2 separate regions of the Homo sapiens genome follow, and region 2 is linked to region 1. The links are contacts of gene promoters, found by promoter capture Hi-C in blood cells and fetal thymus (Javierre and others, 2016). All regions are on one chromosome and are shown on one strand. Each heading gives the region's core, a stretch centred on a gene start or on the middle of the fragment in contact. The rest is flanking DNA. Distances are from core to core; before and after follow the strand shown. Region 1 holds the start of BLVRA (biliverdin reductase A). Region 2 overlaps PSMA2 (proteasome 20S subunit alpha 2).

The links. The method cuts DNA at HindIII sites, captures the fragments that hold promoters and counts their contacts. A CHiCAGO score of 5 or more calls a contact.
Region 2: a contact is called between a fragment that was not itself captured here and the fragment with the promoter of BLVRA in region 1, in 2 of 17 cell types (naive CD8 T cells and total CD8 T cells). The highest score is 6.7, in naive CD8 T cells.

The regions. Positions count from the first base shown.
Region 1 is chr7:43,757,421-43,759,934 of GRCh38, reverse strand. BLVRA (biliverdin reductase A) reads right to left here and starts at 1,255. Exons shown (of 8, transcript NM_000712.4): 1 at 1,201-1,255. It also overlaps the pseudogene LOC107986727. RefSeq lists silencers at 831-1,150, 1,161-1,550. The HindIII fragment of the contact is 5,653 bases long and covers 1-2,514 here.
Region 2 is chr7:42,918,234-42,920,747 of GRCh38, reverse strand. All of the region lies in intron 6 of PSMA2 (proteasome 20S subunit alpha 2), which reads left to right. It also overlaps the pseudogene LOC105375252. Among named protein-coding and RNA genes, the nearest start is that of C7orf25, 7.4 kb to the right of the region's middle. The HindIII fragment of the contact is 3,619 bases long and covers 1-2,514 here.

The DNA of each region.
Region 1 (2,514 bases), core at 6-2,505:
TATAATTAGAGACCCTATTGTAATTTTTAGCTCTCTGGCTACAGAATTTCCCTTCTGATACTTTGTCTAACATTTGACTTGTTTTTCTGGAATGCATCCCGTTAAGGGAAGGATGAGCATATTTATCAATACAATCTTTTAGGAAATAATTAGGAATATACCAATACCTTTATTTCCATAATTTTAATATCTTCTTGGGAATCGTACTATAGAAATTACATTAATGATGGAAAAACTTTCAGCACAGTATTGCTTCCTTTGTAGGTGGTGATGATGACAGCTAACATTTACTGAATCCTTCCCATGCTGAAAACCCTATTGTAAGCTATTTATGTTCGCTAAGTCACTTATTCTTCAGGGCTATCCTACTAAGTAAGCATTATGATTACCCCCACTTTTACAGGTGAGAAAATCGAGGCAACAAGAGGTTGGTTAACGTGCCCAAGATCAGATCGCACAGCGGTATAATAGGATGGAAAACTCCTATCACATAATGAACGTTAAGTGAAAAAAATTAGTATCCAAAACTGTAAGTCTGATGTCTCATTCTTTTTATAATTTAAGTAGTTTATAAATACCCTCATTATTAGCCATATTTCTGAGCACTTCATATGTAGAGTGCACTTTACAGAACACTGTCATGTAACCCTCACACCGTCTACGAAATAAGTGATAGTTTCCAGTTTCCAAAAACGAAAGCGGGGCTAGGAGAGGCCAAGTGCCTCGCGTGGCGCCTCAGGATTCGCCCCAGCGGAGCAGACCCCAGGGCATCCCAGGCGGGTCCCGGCCGAGCTAGCGGCCCTGCGGTGGCTACGCCCGGGCCCAGCCGCTCGCGCTCCTGGAGCCGCCGGACTACGCGGCACGCGGACGCCGAGCCTGCCCTCTTGGGTCTACATAAAAACCGAAACTACGGGCAGTCTTAACCGAAATGGAGACTTAATTTTTTAGACTGTCTTTTGTGTAGTTGAGAAAGCCCCTTGCCGGGACCCGCGCTGCTGGGCCTCCGACCGCGTCCTCACTCCGGGCCCGGGCGGGGCGGGGCGGGGCAGGCGGCGCCCAGGCTGCGTCCCGGCTCTGGCGGCCGCGGGCCCGGGCCTCCTGCGGGCCTGGGGCTTCGAGCTCAGGCCCTAGCGCTCTATGGAAGCCGCGCGCGACCCCCGCTCCCCTGCGCGCGACCCCCGTTCCCCGCGCGCGCCTCACCTGACGCGGGCACCGCTCTCCGTGCAGCCTCCGGGCGCCACCGGCTTTGCGGACCGGGGCGGGATCCCAGCTCCGATTGGCTGCCCGGCTGGGGGGCGGGGGCCCCGAAGCGGGGTGGCGGAGACCGGGAGGGGACCGGAGGCGGTGGGGAAGGGAGTGGACGGAAGGGGAGGGAGGGTCCCGGCCTCGTGCGGTCGCGCGTGAGATCCTGGCCTCTGTGCCCTGGGTCTGGCGCCTGGGGCCGTAAGAACCGTCCGTGCGCCTGCCCTGTTCTCTGCACCCAGCTTGGTGGCGAGGGGTGGGTGGTGGGTGCCGGCCGACCGGAGGGCGTATGGAAGTGGCTGGGCCCCCTCACGGTGTGCCTGGCCCCCTCACGGTGTGCCTGGCCCCGGCGTGGGGGGGGCAGGCCCGGGGGGTGTCGCATCTCTCTTATCCGCCCCCCACTCACCACGTAGAACCCACTGGATCCCATTGGTATTTAGTGGCCCCGGGCCGACTGAACTGGCGCCGAGGCTTACCTGAGTCCTTCCTGTAAATGTGAGGAGCGGAGGGAATATTCCAGGAGGCCGGTGTCTGCGATGTCCTGCTCTTGGGTAGCTAGGAAGTAGTGAACGTGGTCTAGGGAACTGCCTGGGCTCTTATCCACCTGGGAATGGGTTTGTTGGGGATCCTGATGTGGGAGAAGCCAGGGAGCTTCTAGCCTAGTGGGGCTAGGGGAGAAAACAGGGAGAGGGGTGGATTAGGCTGAAGGAAAGAGATCTCTGATCTTAAAGGCAGCGTTCTGACGGGTAAGGTTGACTGGCATTTTCCCCAACAAAGAGTTCTAGTACCGTATTCCATGACCTGACAAGCCTGTTTAAGTGAGGTTTTGTTGAGTGCAAAGAGAGAAGGCTTGGCTTTGAATTTTTATCTCCAGGCGGGACCTGCCTCCTGAACTCCATACTCCTCTATCCAGCTGCCTCCTTAATACCTCCTCTTGGATCTCTAAAATACATTTCAATCTCAACACATCCAAATCTGTGCCCCTGATCTCTTCCCCATAGCATCACCATCTCGATGGCAACTCCATCTTCCAGTTGTCAAGGCCAGAAACCTTGCTGTTTCAGAAACCTTTCTCTCACATCCCACCTCCAGGGCCCAAAAATTCTGTTGGTTGGATCTCCCTAGCATACCCAGAGCCTGACCACTTCTTACCTCTGCCTCCATCATCTGCTACCTGGGTCATGACAGTGGTCTCTTCCCTGATATCCCTGCAGCCTGTCCCCATAAAGCAGCCAGAGTGACCTTAAAAAAAGAAAGCCAGATCAAATTCCT
Region 2 (2,514 bases), core at 6-2,505, 840 kb after region 1:
TAAGGTTATTAAAAATCTTAGGCCTGGATTTAAATGGTAAACTTAATCTTAGGCTCTTAAAGCACTTTTTCATTTTTCTTTTATATATTAATGAGTCTTCCAAAGATTTCACATTGTTATTACATGATATGTTATGATTTGTTTTATTTTTTGTTTCAGAGGCATTTTATTTAGACAACTAAAAATAATTAGATGTTCAGAACCAGTGTACAATGAAAGAAATTAAACCAGTTACTTTATCATGTATTCCCTCTTTACAACCAAAGCAAAAAACAATAGCAACAAAGACATTCTGCTTTAAGGGAAAAGTCAGACAAATAAGCCAATATATTTTTCTTCTCCATAATGACATAAACAGCTGCAAGAACTCTTAATTGTAATAAGAGAAGTTGGATGTTATCTTGTACATATTCATTAAAAAGATGACAGGCCATTGTACTACAAGAGGATAACTCAACCTCCCTTCATCTGATACTCTTGAGATTTCACTTATGGGTAACACCATGTTAGTTGTTTCAGCAATGGAGCTAATTCATATTCCTCATTATTTATTGCTGTTTTTGCCTTAAGCAGAGAGTAACTCTGGAAGGCTGATGCTTTTCTCTGCTTGCTCGTTCTAGTCCAGTTGTATGCTGTCTGTGGCACATGCTTGATGTTCAGGCCTTAACTTGAGGAGTTGAAGAATAGATGGAATCTGAATTCTCTGAAGCAATTTCTTCTAGCTCTTCTCTTGTCTTTGGAAAACCAATCTTTGGCTTTGCCAGCTCACCAGTATCTTCTTCAGGAAGCACACATTTCCAAAGGCCATATGTTTTTCCTACCACAGTTTGCCAGTCTCAGTGTTCCATCTTCAGAACCACTGGCATAGAGTTCTCCATCAGGATCAAATCTCACACAGTGAATAGGACCAGAGTGTCCTTTGTAGGATTCTAATTCTTCTCCACTATTATCATCATACTTATAAGTTTAACATCTTCACCACCTGCAACAAGAAATTCTTTCTCAAGGTGAAGAGATTCAGAGTTAATGTTTGCAGGAGCTTGAAAGGATTTAATTGGTTCCAAACTTACTGTACTGTCAAAAGCACTGGATCAGCCATAAGTTATTACCAAAATCTCTCCCTCAGAAATATATTCCATACTACTAGCCAACATAATAAAATTTAGAGATTTCACTTCTGTCATAGTAGCATGATCCCAAAGTCTTAACAGTTTTGTCATCAGAAGAAAGAATCTGTTTATCCTCACTGTACCATAGGGCCTTTTTAATATCAGAGCTGTGATCACTAATTTCCTCAGGTTCTGCTTCGGGTTTGTTCAAGTCATATATGCAAAACAGTTTATTCTGTCCCCTGGTTAACAAATAATTACTATCCTGCATGAAATCCATAGTCTTGATAATGTGTTTATGAGCCAGGGTCATCAGTTCATCTCCTGGGATAGCATCCCACACTTTGTGAAATCTGCAGCTGCTGTGGCTGCTTTGGTGGCATCCTTATTCAGTGTTGCATTCCAGACAGCATCTTTATGACCCAAAATTGTTCCAATCCAGTCTCCTGTATCTCCCTGGCATAGCATAGGTTTGCCGTCTTTGCAAGCACTGATTTAGAAATACTCATAAGACTGGCCAGGCGCAGTGGCTCACGCCTGTAATCCCAGCACTTTGGGAGGCCAAGGCAGGCGGATCACCTGAGGTCAGAAGTTCGAGACCAGCTGGGCCAACATGGTGAAACCCCGTCTCTACTAAAAATACAAAAATTAGCCAGGAGTGATAGCGCGCGCCTGTAATCCCAGCTACTCGGGAGGCTGAGGCAGGAGAATCACTTGAACCTGGGAGGCGGAGTTTGCAGTGAGCCAAGATTGCACCACTGCACTCCAGCCTGGGCGACAGAGCAAGATTCTGTCTTGAGGGAAAAAAAAGCCCCTAAGGCATGATGCCACTGAAGGCCAAGTCAGCCACGGGCCATATGTGGCCAGAACAGGTGAGCAGCATCAGTCTCATTGCTATGGAGGTGGTGAACCCAGTGATTGGGCTGGTGGGCTGAGGGTCATCCTTGTCTTTTCTCCTCTGGTACAGCGCCCGGGGTTCCTCCAGGCTTCACCCTAACACGGGCTGAGCAGAGAAAAAGGAAAAGGTGGCACCGAGATTAGGAAGGAGCTAGGGAGGGGCTGGGGAGTCTGGGAAGGGTGAGCAACAGTTGACAATGGAGGGAGGAAAGTAGGGGATGGGGAGAACCGAAGAAACGACCCAGCCACTCTTCGCACCGTCCACACTGGTATCGGCAGGAAGTGACATGTTATGTTTTAACTTATAAGAAAAAGATTTTAGCAAAGTTCTGATTTTTCTGTGTTTTAAAAATTATAATAATGCCACCACATCCTGATTGTTAAAATATTTATACTTAAGAAGTTTCCTGGCTGGGTGTGTTGGCTCGTGCCTGTAATCCCAGCACTTTGGTAGGTCAAGGCAGGCGGATCACGAGGTCAGGAGATCGAGACCATCCTGGCTGACACA